Linked DNA regions of Homo sapiens: regions 2 and 3 are each linked to region 1. Evidence: promoter capture Hi-C in 16 types of primary human blood cells and fetal thymus (Javierre and others, 2016). All regions are on one chromosome and are shown on one strand. Each heading gives the region's core, a stretch centred on a gene start or on the middle of the fragment in contact. The rest is flanking DNA. Distances are from core to core; before and after follow the strand shown. Region 1 has its middle 28 kb from the start of LINC01738. Region 2 holds the start of TAL1 (TAL bHLH transcription factor 1, erythroid differentiation factor). Region 3 holds the start of CMPK1 (cytidine/uridine monophosphate kinase 1).

Evidence for each region. The method cuts DNA at HindIII sites, captures the fragments that hold promoters and counts their contacts. A CHiCAGO score of 5 or more calls a contact.
Region 2: the fragment with the promoter of TAL1 here is called in contact with a fragment that was not itself captured in region 1 in 2 of 17 cell types (total CD4 T cells and naive CD8 T cells); the score reaches 6.1 in total CD4 T cells.
Region 3: a contact is called between the fragment with the promoter of CMPK1 here and a fragment that was not itself captured in region 1, in 6 of 17 cell types (M0 macrophages, M2 macrophages, total CD4 T cells and 3 more). The highest score is 8.4, in M0 macrophages.

The regions. Positions count from the first base shown.
Region 1 is chr1:47,714,476-47,719,340 of GRCh38, reverse strand. No RefSeq gene overlaps it. Among named protein-coding and RNA genes, the nearest start is that of LINC01738, 28 kb to the right of the region's middle. The HindIII fragment of the contact is 201 bases long and covers 2,351-2,551 here.
Region 2 is chr1:47,230,047-47,234,911 of GRCh38, reverse strand. TAL1 (TAL bHLH transcription factor 1, erythroid differentiation factor) reads left to right here and starts at 2,687. Exons shown (of 5, transcript NM_001290403.2): 1 at 2,687-2,745. RefSeq lists enhancers at 2,518-3,491, 3,492-4,465, 4,658-4,865. The HindIII fragment of the contact is 19,807 bases long and covers 1-4,865 here.
Region 3 is chr1:47,331,926-47,336,790 of GRCh38, reverse strand. CMPK1 (cytidine/uridine monophosphate kinase 1) reads right to left here and starts at 3,001. Exons shown (of 6, transcript NM_016308.3): 1 at 2,675-3,001. The coding sequence starts at 2,845. RefSeq lists enhancers at 1,879-1,938, 1,455-2,258, 2,259-3,062 and a silencer at 2,449-3,088. The HindIII fragment of the contact is 8,075 bases long and covers 2,094-4,865 here.

The DNA.
Region 1 (4,865 bases), core at 1,202-3,701:
TACAAATATTTCTCTCTGTCATTTTTGTCTATTGGCCTCCCTTCTTTTCCAATACAAACATTTATTAGGCATCTACCATGGAACAGGCCTGTGTGGGCTCCACAGATGCAGGGATAGACAATGTTAAGACATTTCTCAACATTCCTTTAGCCCTTACTGTGTGACTGACACTAATCCAAGCATTTTACATGGGTTTTCTCACTTAATACTCATAACAACCTGAAGAAGTAGAAACTTTTATTATTGTTCCATTTTACATGTTAGGAAACAAGAGACAAAGAAATTAAATAACTTAGTCAAACTAACTGAGAAAGTGGTGGAGCCCAGAATCATATGCAGACACTCAAATTTCAGAGCCAAGTGGGGAAAAATCTTCAGCCCTGCGTACCTCACTAGCTGATTGAATCAGGTGTGAGGGGGGGTTAAGTAAGGCAAGGGAGGGCCTTAGATGACATACATAGCATGGTATTTAGCAAAGAGAGAGCTCTTTCTAAATGTGACTATTGTGAACCCTATTTTTATTGTGAAAGTATTACCATGAAAGCAATAATTTTGTTATCCACACTTTCTCTCTTTTCTTTGGTATCTAATGAGCTTTTTTTAAAGGCCCTTAGAGGGTAGCTAAGGCACTGACTAAAGAGGGAACTGAGGCCCAGAAAAGGGCAGGAATCTGCCTCTTCCCAGGCCGCCAAGGCTAGAAGCATCAGTCTACTGGTAAATTTAACACCAGCTCTCTAGAGAAGAGAAAGCCTGATTTGCAGTCTTTGCCAGTTTCTATGGTGTGTTCTCACCATGGCAGATTTCAAACTGAAGTGAGATCACTTGATAGTGCAGTTGAATAGAGGCACTTACGGTCAGCTCTGGCCAGTGGGTGCAAACAAGCTCTGCACACCACGGACCAGAACCTAGGCTTTCTGACAAGCCTGGAGACCTTTACAGGATACCACCAAATCCAACGGCCCCAAGGGTCCATGTAGATGAGGAGTGGGGCTATGAGGATAGGAGGAAAAGGAGAGGGACAAAATGCTGAACCCCGAAGAGCTCTGAAAAGTTCAATAGGTCTTCCTTCTCCACACACTCAAGATTGCTTGTTCTATGCTCTCTCTGATAACTTGTAAAGTTTAGACTTGGGGAGAAGAAAGGGAAATGGCTTGGTTCCTGATACCCTCCTAGATTGAGCAGGATGTGGCAGTATGAGCTCAGTCCTGCCTGCTTTGCAGTTCCTGAAAGAAGAAGCCGTGGCTGGGGTCACCTGCTCCCTGGGTCCAGAAAGGGAGATCAGGTGATTTCATTTCCAGAGTACAGCATGTATTTCTCAATTTAACTTTGGGTCATTTTCACCGCTTATTTCCTTCCTCCTGGTCTCATAGTGTGTCCAGTGACTAATCCAAGACCCAGACTCTGACATAGGCTTAGAGATCTGTGATGTTGGGCACTCTACCAAGTACCCCTCTTCATCAGCATGGCCTCAATTCCACTAGTAGCTCTCCCTCTAGGTCAAGTCAGTGATGTGCTATTAAAATTGTCCGACTATTAATGATGGTAGTGAAAAAAATAACTGCACTTACTCTAACATCTTTAAACTGACTACTTAATATTAGCTTATTGCTATCCCAAACAAGTAAAAGAAACATTTAAGCCCCTACTATGTGTCAGACATGCAATGTGCATTATATTTAATTTTCCAAGCAAACTGACCAGGAAAGTTATCATCCTCATATTTTATTGATGAATAAAGCTCTTCCTAGAAGGGTTATGTAACTTGGCTGAAGTCACATGGCTAGTAGGTGACTGAGCCAGGATTGGAACCCAGGTGTATTTGTGTTCAATACTGTATTCTTTCCCTATTCTGTGATGATTCATCTCTTAGGTTGATTAGGAAAAAAAAAAAATCAAGATAATTCTGAGAGAGTGAACACAGGCTAGGCATATTAGTTTTCTATTGCTATGAAACAAATTACCATAAATTTAGCAACTTATAGCAGTACCTATTTACTATGGTATAATTGTGTAGCCCAGAAATCCGGGTGGGCTTATGTGAGTCTTCTGCCCTGGGTCTCACAGGCTAAAATCAAGGTGTTAGCCATCTGGGGTCTTATGGGAAGGCTCTGGGAAAAATGCCCTTCCAAGCTCAATCAGGATGTTGGCAAAATCCAGTTCTTTGCAGTTGTAGACTGAAGTCCCTGGTTCCTTGCTAGCCATCAGCTCCTTAAGGCCATTCATTTTCCTTCTCACATGGTCCTCTCCATTTTCAAAGCCAGCAATGATGCAGCAAGTTATTCTCATACTTCAAATATCTCCAAGATCTCCTTCTTCTGACTTCCTTTTCTGCTGTTGGCTAAAGAAAGCTTGCTGCTTTTAAGGGCTCATCTGATTCCACTGGGACCACCAGATACTTCAGGATAACTTCCCTATCTTAAGGCCAACTATACCATATAACATAACATCATCACAGGAGCGATGTCTAATCATATTCACAAGTTTCAGGAATCAGGGAAGGGCATCTTTGGGAGCCCATTTTAGAAATTCTGACTACTACAATAGATAAGCTTTGCAGGAGTGGAGGTTCTAGGGGTACTCTCCAGGCAGGTAGGACCGGGAAGGAGAGGGGCTTCCCACTGGAGGTCTTGAACACCTGGAAAGCACTGTGGGGACACTGGGTAGCCAAGGTGAAAGGACGTAAACAAGGAGGCAGGGTCTATAGTGGGGGGGATATCGGAAAGAAGGAGGCAAAAAAGAACAAAGGAAATGCATAAAAAAAAAGAATGCAGCCTTACATCTGTAAAGAAGTTCAAGTTCCCTTTGTTCTCTCACAGGGGCCCCAAAAGATACTCAGTAAATACGTGTGAAATTAAATGGGCTGTGTCACTCAACTCCCATGGAATGGGTTGGGTTGAGATTCATTGGGTAGGTTGGGATTAGGGCTGGGAGAGACTGAGTTGAGATGAGTTGGATGGGTCATATAAGCTGAGGTGCAGATTAAATGGCTTGTTTAAATTAAGGTAATTGACCTAGGCTGAGATGTGATGGATTGCATTGAGTTTAGATGGGCTGAGGTAGAAAGAGGTGAGTCAGGCATAGCTTGGTTGGGGCTGGGTTTGGCTGAGCTAGGCTAATTTGAATCAGGCTGGATTTAACATGCTTGGGTGGGTTGGAATGATTTTAGGATGGGTTGGTTTTTAGCAGGGTTAGACTGAGCTGAGGATATATTTGGTTGGGGATGTATTAGCTTTTAGTTTCAGAGACAGAATCTACTCTGAATAGTTTAAGCAAAAATAAATGTATTAACAGTATTTCATGGCTCACAGAAATATTTGGAGAGCTGAAAACAGATTCTAGGCTTCATCTTCAGGACCAACTCCCAAAGTTAGGCTGCAGAATGGACCACCAAGGCAGCTGCTCCTTTTGCAACCATTAGGAAACCATCTGCCAAGTCAGGAAGCCACCAATTTGGCTTCTGACTCAAGAAACATGCTCACCTGCATGTCCACACTAGCTAAATGCACACTTCAGTGAAAGCATTGACAGGGTTTCTCTCCAGATAAAAAAAAGTACGGTGAGGAAATTATTTGGGCAGGTAACACAAAATTGGAAAAATGTTCCTAATTGTTGAATCTGGGTCATACAGATAGAGGTACATCACACTCTTCTCTCTTCTTTTGCATGAGTTTTTTCTATGGTTATTGTTTTGAAAGGACGGCTCATTCCTTGCCTTTCTGCCCATTCAATACACTTCTGACTTCAAGCCTTGCATGAATGTATGGCATGCGGTAAAACCTACATAACATCTGCATTCTAACTCTAGGGCAGTCTGGGAAATACAGTTTTTAGCTTTTCAGCCCCTATGAGATAAAAAGGCACACTAGAAGGAGAGAGGGAAAGGGGCTGAATGAATCAGTCTACAGTTTCTACCACCATTGAGCTACACAGGTTGGGTTGGGATGAGTTGCAATGGACGAGGTTGCCTGGGTTGGACTAGGCTAGGTTAAGAGAGGTGTTGGATGGGTTGGACTAGGTTATGTTGGAAAGTTTGGGCTATACTTAGGTGAGCAGGACTGAGCTGGGTTAGGCAGCATTGGCAGGAGTTGGATCAGGATAGGTGATTTATGTTGAGAGCCTCAGTGAGGCCAGTGCTTGGGCACTGGTGTCAAGCCCTTTGAGAGCAGTGGAGTGTGAGTGTTTTACTCACTCAGAGCCAGGAAGGGAGGACTTGGAGAATGACATTATTGATGATAGTAGCACCTCTGTCAGTCCACCCTCATTGGGTTTCCTCTCCACTTCCTGGGGCCAGGCTCATGTCCCCTTCACTGAAGCCAGACCTCTCTCCAGGCTTAGGGCATTTCCAATGTTCAGCTCAACCTTTTCTGCCCTCCTTAACATGAAAGCTATTAGAGCAAGAGGCTTGGGACTTAAGTTACAAGCAGAGAAACTTGCAGGATGTGTTGTCTTGGGGCAAAACCAAACCCAAAGTCAGGATATCAGAGCCATATGGTTCCCTCCCTACATTTCTGGTGGGAGGCGTTGTGGATTTTATGGAATTTGGGACCAGTTCCGGAGTCCCACAGGTGCTGTGTTCACTGAGCCAAGGAAAATGGGTGCTGGCAAGCACACATGTTTACATGCAGAGTAATGCATATAAGCACAAAGCTTTCCAGTTTGCAATGCAGTTTCAGTTTACATACATTCTCTCTGAGTAGCTCTGTAAGGCAGGAGTCATTAGGTAACATCCCAAAGAGAGACACTCATGCTCAGAGAGGCTAAGTGCCTTGCCCAAAGTCACACAGCAGGGCTAGGATTTGATTTTTTGGTTGTTGTTTACATAAACATTGTCTCCTTAACTAGCATCCAGCCTCTATGAGGTTTGC
Region 2 (4,865 bases), core at 1,438-3,937, 480 kb after region 1:
GAGACAGAGTCTCGCTCTGTCGCCAGGCTGGAGTGCAGTGTCGCGATCTCGGCTCACTGCAACCTCTGCCTCCTGGGTTCAGGTGATTCTCCTGCCTCAGCCTCCTGAGTAGCTGAGACTACAGGCGTGCGCTGCCACACCCAGCTAATTTTTGTATTTTTAGTGGAGACAGGGTTTCATCATGTTGGCCAGGATGGTCTCGATCTCTTGACCTCGTGACCCGCCTGCCTGGGCCTCCCAAAGTGCTGGGATTAGAGGCATGAGCCACCATGCCTGGCCCAAATCCAATTATTATAAACCCAGTTTTATACCCCAAATACATGTCATCTTCACTTGCCTCTTGTCATCTCTTCTGCCAGCACAGTGGTCCAAGCTCTAATCCGCTTCCCCTAACCACTGCATTGGCTCCACAACTGGCCTCCCAGAGTCCTTCCCCCTCCACACTTCATCCAAAGAACTTTCTAGAAATGCAAATCTTATTCTATACAAGGTACCACCCCCACCTTCAAACCAAACAAACAAAAAAATGTCAAAAAATCTTTTAACTTGTCCACAAGCATGCTCCAGCCATACTGGACACTTTTCTATTCTTTTCACGAACCTACCACCCTTCTGTTCTAGCCCTTGGTCCAGCTGTTTCCTCAGCCCACCTGGAAGGTTCTGGATACTGATGCTTCTCCCCACCCCCCTTCTTCGCACCCCCAAATTTCACTCTTAGATCTCAGTCCAGGCCTCATTTTCTCAGAGAAGCAGTCCCCACCTGGGCTCTCCCATATGGGAATGGCTAGCCTGTTTTTACAGTGGCTCAGAGACATGAAATCACTTCTCTAAGGGTCCCACAGCCCAGGAATGGCAGAGTTGTGTTTCAGACTCAGAATTATATGACTCTCATTTTCTAATAAGTGATGGAGCCAAGCAAAGGCCTTATGGTAGGGGGGAACTAGACTTTTTCTTAGGATGTGGGATTCTGTGAGAGTTATCTGTATCCCCATGACAGCCTGACTTCCTTCAGAGAGCACAGGAGGAACAGAGGGGACAGGCGGCACTGAATTAACTGTATCTTCTCAGAGGGTCAACCTGATGACCAAGGAGAAGCCAGATCCCAGACTGGGGCCATGCTCTCTGCTCAGTCTTTGACTGGGACTCAGTTTGTTACCAGAGTAGGGGTTTTCCCCCAGTTCTCAGGCTCCAAAAAAAGCTCAAAAGCAGAGACACTAGAAGGACAAATCAGCCTGGCATGGAAAGTAGAGTTGTGGACTGGGAATTGGACACCAAAGTTTGGGTCCTGGCTTTTCCTTTGGGTTACTGTAAGTTTTGGCTAAGTCACATCTCTCTGTGTCTTAATTTCTTTCTCTATGATGATAACCAGAACTCCCATGCAAGTGCATATGATGTTTTCCTGGGCTGTGGACTGAGTGACGTTCCATACATTATTATCCTCACCACCACCTTTTAAAGGTCATATAAGTTAGTTCTCATAACTTTGTGACGTCGACATTATCTCCCCATTTTACAAATGAGAAAACTGAGGTTCAGAGATCAGTGACTAAAATTCGAACATGTGTTCTTTCCACTCCACCATGAAAGAATGAACCCAGAGACCCTCCGTGGGCTGAGCGCATCATCCAGCTGGCACTGAACTCAGATTTCTACCCCACAGTAAAGACCCTGGTCTCTGCAATGAGTTGAGCCCAGGTCCCTTTCCCTGGCTAGGTTTTGGCTGCCCCTCTTCATCAGCTGAGCCGCAGAGAAGACTCCGTGTCAAATTTCCTTCCAAGGCAGACTCCACCAAGCACTAGCTATGTATCATTCGAAAAGTTACTTTGACTTTCTGTGCCTCAGTTTTCTCTTCTGTAAATTAAGGATCCAGCTTCTCAGGACTGTTTGTGAAGAGTAGATTAGTATTTGCAGAATGCCTAGAATAGTGTTACAGTCGCTAGATTAAACTTTTTTTTTTTTTTTAAATACCATGTGGGGAGCAGTGTTCCTGGGCTCTGGGCTCAGCCTGAAACCTAGCAGAATAGGCATTTTATGTCCCTATTGACAGGGGTTCTGCCAGGCCGCCGTAGAGCCCATGGATTTGAGTTACCGGCTCTATTTTAGAAGGGGGTGAAGAGGTAGGGAAGGGCTGGGGAGCTTTCTGGGATAGGGAGACTGCCCATTGAAATCTGGGTGTCTGGGACACTGGAGGAAGAATAAGAAAGAAGCCCTGGGAGGTGACGATTTTGGTATCATGGTGGTCTTCAGAGGTAGGGACAGAGTGCTGGGGTGAGAGTCGCTGAAGAAAGGTGTCTGAAAGGTTAAGGGACTGAGGTTGTGGGAAGCTGGGGTTCCTGAGAGGCCTTGGGATTAGAGATGGGGGCTGGATCTGCTGGGTCCTAGACAGCGCGTCCAACGCTCCCCGCAGCGCGTTCCGGAGCCGGTCCTAGCGCCGCTCAACCAGTCCCCACTCCCTCCGGTGAAATTGCCAAATTAAAATGAATCATTTGGCCCATAATGGCCGAGGCGCTTATCGGGGGCGGGCGGACCCGCGGCAGTGCCTTATCTCTGCGGCGCACACGGCCCCGGCGCGCCTCGGCCCATGCTAACGAGGCCTGGAACGTGAGTGGGATTACAGCGCGTCGGTGGAGGGGCCGGGCGGGCGCGGGGCGGGCGGGGGAGCGGGGGCCGCGGGAGGGGCCGGGCCGCCGCCGCTCAGGACCGGGCCTCAAAATGGCCACACGCGTACCCCCGTAGCGGAAAAACGTGAGCATTCTGGCCTTTTTCTAGGGGAAAAGCAACCCGCGGCCTCCCACCGAATTCTTCATCAATTTCCTCCTCTTTTTCCCCACGTCCGCAAAAGAGGTCTTCGCTCCCTTTCCCTCGGTTCCTTTCGATGGCCGGGGGGGGCGGTGGGGGGGCATTTTCCACGGACGCCCCCGCCCCGGCTGCCGCCGCCCCTCCCGCCTCGGAGACTCTCTTCCTTCCTTCCCCCTTTTCCTTACGCAATATACAGAAATGCGCGAGGCTGTGGTTGGTTTTCATTTCTTCTTCGTGGTTGTGTGCATGCGGTGGGATTGTGAGAGTGCGTTCATGAGAACTGTGGGCGGCGTTGGCTGCTTCTAAGTGTGGTCTTCTTGGCGACAGGCTCTGTGTCCGAGTGTGGTGTGCCTGCGCGGTTGGGGTGTGTAGATGTGGACCCTTCGAGGCCCTTCTGCGTTTTCTTCGTTGCGTACGATTGTGCTCCGTTGGTGTTCTCAGCAGGGATCTGATTCTGTGTGTGGGGGTGTGTGGCCCCTGCGACTGTGTTTGGGTGGTGTCGTCGTTATGTCGGGCGTGTGTGATCCCGACTGTGCTGGATTGTGTGTCCGTGAGCCGCTGCGTTTGACTGATTTCGTTGTGTCCTGTTGGGCAGTGTGCGGGGCTGACCAAGTCGGCTTCTGGGGCAGTGCTAGGTGGTGTTTGTTTGCTGCCCTTCTGTGGGGCTGGACCCTGTGTGGTCCTGTCCGCACTGAGTTGTATGCCTGTGTGCCTGTGTCCTTTAGAGGTGCGTTTGCAAATCGCTGGGGGCGGGAGTGGGGGGAGGGCGAGCGAGAGATCGAGGCGCTGGTGGGGGCGGCGGCATGGGGGCGGGGAGCGGGATTTCACATTTTATTCCAAATTATGATGTATTCGGGAGCCAGTTGTTGGCTTGGGTGGGCGGACAGCGCCCGGTCGGCGGCTGCTCTGCCCGGAGGCCCGCCTGTGCCTAGGTGTTTGAGGGGTTCGTTGGTGAGTGGGAGGCTCCTCCAGGCTTGAAGCTGAGCAGCGCTCGCCGAGGCCGGCGCCTTCGAGCCGGTAGCTGCGGGCTTCGGTTCCCGCTGCACTCCGGCTTCATCCATTTCTGGTCAGTTTCGTGGGTGCGGCCGCCGGGCTCCAAGGGAGAGGCCCCGAAAGGACAATGGGCACATTCACCAGGCCTCGAGCCTCGGGTGGGGACATTCGGGATCACCTCCTGGGAAGATTTTCCCGCCCCCTCTTCGGGTGAGCGACGTTGCCGCTTGGGTCTGATACCCGTCGCATCCGAGACCGAGGCCGAATCCGGGCTCTGGGAGGGACCGGGTTAGTGGGGCCCTAGCTCGGGTTGAAAGAATTTTGTTTTGTCAATTATTGTAATTGCTAATGCCATCACCATCACAATCGTCATCATTAACATCTATTTTAATTAAAATAATCATCCCAGAGCGCAGCAGTTTGTCCCTTTTGGCTCCTTTGGCGGGAGAACAAAGCAGCGGGTTTTTTTCCGCTACAGCCGTTTTCTAAGTTGCTGGGTTTGAGGTAGGAAGAGAAAATGGAGAGAGGCACGGACACAGAGACTTGGTCATAAGGCAAACATTAACCCCCAGCGAACACGCAACATTAACCCCCCGCGAACACGCCGGGAATGGATGGATTCCCCTCTTCTTTCCTCCCCTCCCCTCTTTTGGATTAGAAGAGGAGAAAGAAAATCTTCCGCATTGTATTGCAATCCAGGGAAGAATTATTCCTATATGTCCACCAAAGCCGCGGCAAATAGAAGGAGGCCTTCGCAGTTAATCCAAGACTTCGATGTGTGATCATAAGCCTGACGATTTAGGCAAAACAAATTAAACAAAATCCACTAGGAAAAAATAAAAGCAAGCTCAATCCTGCTACATCCTTGAAAGTAGTGTCGGGTTTGTTTTTACCTCCTTTCCTTTTACCTTGTTTATTGCTGTAACAAATCATTAGAATTCTCCCTTACTCTGTCTAAACCCCGAAAAATCGAAAATCATTTCGTAGGGGTGGTGGAGGGGAAGGTGGGGGACTTTTCCCCTTTGTTTCTTTCTTTCCCCCTTTGTTGGTCTTTATTTCCTTTTCTTTTTCTG
Region 3 (4,865 bases), core at 1,752-4,251, 380 kb after region 1:
ACTTTGAGAAGCCAAGGCAGTAAGATCCCTTGAGTCTGGGAGTTCGAGACCAGCCTGGGCAATATAGTGAGCCCTGGTTTCTACAAAAACCTGAAAAAAAGTTAGCAGAGAGTGGCAGTGCACACCTGTCATCCCAGCTACTTGGGAGACTGAGGTGAGAGGATGGCTTGAGCCCAGGAGGCAGAGGTTGGAGTGGGCCAAGATGGTACCACAGCACTCCAGCCTGGGTGACACAGAGAGACTCGATCTCAAAACAAACAACAACAACAAAACCCACCAATAAAAATAACCAATATAATAAGATCAGGAAGTTTAAAGTAGAGGTAATAAGATCAGAAGTTTAAAGTGGAGAAAAAAACTATCTGCATCTGTCTCTGTGTGCCAGATATTTTACCTCATTTAATATTCACAAATACCATACAAAACAGCCATTTCTATGTTTTCCCTTTTCACAGGGAACTAAAGGCAACAACATCTCTGGGCCTAGAGAAACAGTAAATGGCAGAGTCAGGGTTTGAACCTATATCTCTTTGACTCTAAAGTCTTTGCCCCTTCCCCCATCATGCTATTTAAGAAAGATCACATATACTAAACAAAAATTTGAAATCACTCCCACTTTTCACTTGCCATTTATTTATTTATTTATTTATTTCTGAGACGGAGTCTCGCTCTGTCGCCCAGGCTGGAGTGCAGCAGCCAGTCTCTTTACTTTTTAAAAGACAAGTGACAAGGCCAGGCACGGTGGCTCATGCCTATAATCCCAGCACTTTGGGAGGCTGAGGCGGGCAGATCACGAGGTCAAGAGTTCGAGATCAGCCTGGCCAACATGGTGAAACCCTGTCTCTACCAAAAATACAAAAATTAGCCAGGCGTGGTGGCGCACGCCTGTAATCCCAGCTATGCAGAGGCTGAGGCAGGAAAATCGCTTGAACCTGGGAGGCGGAGGTTGCAGTGTGCTGAGATCGCACCACCGCACTCCAGCCTGGTGACGGAGTGAGACTGTCACAAAAACAAAAACAAAAACAAAAAAACAACAAAAGAAAGAGAACCAACAAAAAAAAATTTTTTTAAGAGGATGTAAATGTTATGTATTTTTTTAGTTGGACTAGTTCCACTTTGACACCTAAAATGATTTTTTTTTTTTTTTTTTTTTTGAGACGGAGTTTCACTCTTTCGCCCAGGCTAGTGTGCAGTGGCGCGATATGGGCTCACCGCAACCTCCGCCTTCCGGTTTCAAGCGATTCTCCTGCCTCAGCCTTCGGAGTAGCTGGGATTACAGGCGCCCGCCACCACGCCAGGCTAATTTTTGTATTTTTAGTAAAGACAACGTTTCGCCATGTTAGCCAGGCTGGTCTCGAACTCCTGACCTCGTGATCCGCCAGCCTCGGCCTCCCAAAGTGCTGGGATTACAGGAGTGAGCCACAGCGCCTGGCAAAATGATCAATATTTATAAATACATCTGTCCAACACATAATGACTTGTTGAACTCATCTAACTTTCTCTGGATGCTATTTAGGGAATAAAATACAGGACAGGAGTTGATTGTTATGAACATATAAGGAGAGAAGCAAAAGCCCCATGCTAATATTGGCCATATCCTAGAAGAGGAGGAAATTATAAGTTCTAGGTCAAAAAAACTTTTGTTGGTTACAGGGTTTCAGAGTGATTTCACTAGAGGCCACCAATGGTCGCCTCTTCTGTTTCTAGATATCCTGTTTTCCTTCTTTCCCAAGCATTCCCCAGATTGTCCATGAAGCCTTTTTTTCCCACAGTGTCAATGCAGCTAACCAACCATACATCTAGCTCAAAAATTGTTAAAAGAATTGAACTGGTAACCTGTCTCAAAGCAAAAGAAAAAAAAGTAACAGCATTTTACATTTGGGAGGTGTTTTATATCCTGAGAAAATCTGGGTTCAGAGACTCTTTTTACTGTATTACAAGGGCTAACTGAGGCTGGGAGACAGGAAGTGACCGAGGGCCGAGCGTGAGTTGGCAGCAGGGCCAAAGGTTGAAGCTTGATCTCAGAACAGCACTCCCGGCTTTCCCCATCCCCGACCCGGGCCGAGCCTCAGGGCTGGCTCCGCCCTAAAGCTTGCGGGGACGGGGCTCGAGAGTGCCAGCGGCAGCCCACAGCACGCCTAAAATAACACCCCGCCCCACGGGCCTCCTTTCTAGAGTAAAGACACGTTCGGTGACAGTGCGGAGTTTAGGGAACCAGAGGGAAGGCGCGGAGAAGAAAAATAGGTCTCTCCTTCAGACAACTGTGGGCGCACACGGCCTCTAACCCAAATCCGCGCTCCTGCTGCCTTCACCTGCCACACGATCAGCGACACGCTAACCTCTGCGCGCTGGGGGACCCCCAAAGGTTGGCCTCCGGGATCCCTCTCCCAGCCCACTCTAGAGACGAATCTGGTCCCCAAAATGTAAGAAAAGAAGGGGCGCAGGAACAAAGCGACCTCAAGCGGTGGCCCCCAAGGCGGGCGGGCGCGGACTACAAGTCCCGGCACGCCGCGCGCCGGCGGCCCTCGGCCACTGCCACGCGGGCGGCGCGGTGGCCGCCGGGACTCGTAGTCTGCGGCTCGGCGACTCCGCGGGGCGCGGACTAGGGGCGGCGGGACAGGCCGGCCCGCATCCCGTCAAGCCCCAAGGAGCCCGCCTGCTGCCCGGGCCTCACCTCGACGATGCGGGCGCACTGGGTCCCCTTGCCGGCGCCGGGGCCGCCGAGGACGAACACGACCAGCGGCTTCATGAGACGTGGAGAGCAGAGGAGAATCGGCCGGCGGGTCTGCAGCAGGAAGCTAAGGCCCAGGACGTGGAGCAGCCCGCTGCGGCAGCGGCTCAGCATACACCGCGCCTCGGCCGGACGCTGAGGGAGCTGACAGCGGCCGGCGCGGCGCGGGGCGGGGCGGGGAGGCGGCGGGAGAAAGGGGCGGGCTGAGCCGGCGCCCGCCGCGGCCCCGCCGCCGTGGCTGCCCGGGCGTCCGCGGCCCTGTCGGAAGGGGAGGAGCTTCGCACGGCGGCGGCGTCTCGGCGACACTCGTGCGGTCCGCGCCAGCTTTCCTCCAACCCTTGGGTGGTTATTAGTGCTTTCTGACTGCAGATATTTTATCCTGCGCCCTCAAGTGTCTGGTGCTGAGCTGGAGGCTGGGACGTGATCCGCGGGAGAGCAAAACCTATTGTCTCTGCTCGCAATGAGTTTCCATTCCAGCCAGTGAGGTATGGGGAGGTAGCCAGTGTGAATGAGTAAACACCAGTACATACAAAAGGCAGTACGATTTTGAAGAAATAACAAGTAGGACATAAGATGGCCAGGGTCGCCAGAGAAGGCTTCAGAAGAGGTGACATTCAAGCCAAGACAAAAGGATAGAAAAGAGCGAAACCAGGCAAACACCAGGATAGAGTGTCCCACAGAGAAAAGCATGTGCAAAAAATCTAAGTTGGTTTGGCATGTTAAAGCAATTGAAGGAAGGCCTGGCTGGGCGCGGTGGCTCACGCCTGTAATCCCAGCATTTTGGGAGGCTGAGGCAGGAGGATGGCTTGAGCCCAGGAGTTCGAGACCAGCCTGGACAACATGACGAGACCCCGTCTCGACCAAAAATTTAAAAGCCGGGCACCGTGACCCGTGCCTGTGATCCCAGCTACTGGGATGTTCACTTGAGCCTAGGAGCCGTAATAGCACCACTGCACTCCTGCCTAGGTGACAATGAGACTGCTTCAAAAAAAAAAAAGGAAAAAAGGCCAGTGACAGTGAGACCAGGGCTGAGTCAAATGAGGGGAGAATGGAAGGTGAAAAGTTGAGAAAGTGAGGTCGGTGGCAGATCAGGACTTTTGATTATGGAAAGGAATTTGGGCTGTATTCTAACAGCAATGGAAGCCCTTTAACTCCGTTCGCCTGCCCCCTTCATTAGGGAAGAATCTTAAGGGAGAAGAAAAGGAGACGTTCAAGAACTGAGCCTTGGTGCATACAGGCCTTTAAAAGGCCTTCTGGCCAACGTTAAGAGCTCATTTGATATTTGAGGTAACGGATTCAAAATAATTGAAGATGTTTGGCCATTCAGGCACAGGCAGAGAAGGCAGCTTGTTGCATTTACTGAGGGTTGGGATTTTGCCTGGCAAGTACAACAGAGAGAGGGGGCCAAGTGATGAGAGTGTTTGGAAGAGAATGTTCATGATGCTGTGTGTAGAATCAAAACCATACAGGAAAGCAAATAATGGCACATGAAGCCTGGTAGTGGAGGGGTTGGAGGGTGGTGGGGAAAGGGACCAATGTCTTAGAGCATTGGCCCAAGAAAGATTGCAGTGGGGTATATGAGCAAGTGCTCTGGCAGTATGGATGCTGCTGGTCTGAGTGGGATATTTGGAATTGAAATGTCCCAGCTTCTGAGTTTCTGATGATGCCAAGGTCCAGGGTGAGACCATGGGAATGGAAGACTGAGGCAGAATGCATGTCCTGTTTTTAGAACTAAGAGTCCAGGGTGTTAGATTTGTCGTACAGGTACAAGTTCAAGTCAGATAGTGCTGGAGTGAACAAAGACTATGGGAAAGGAACTAAGCTGTTTAGGGCAGAGTGACCAGGACGTTAGTAAACGAAAGCAAACAGGAGAGGAAGATAGTGGTATAGCCCTCTGTCTGACCACCCCCATTCTCCTTTTTCTTTTGGTGGTCCTTTCTTAGCTCACTCAGCATTTTCTGGCTCTTCCCCATCTCTACTCTCTCTCCTTGCTTTCTTTTTGTTGTTGTTGTTTTTACTTATTCCCATCCTTCCTACCCTTCTTTTCCCATTTATAAGTCCCTCCCTTCTCCCTGTCTCTTTTCCTGTCCTTCTCCTCACCTACTTGCCTTTGTTTGCCCTTCTTTTCCATTCT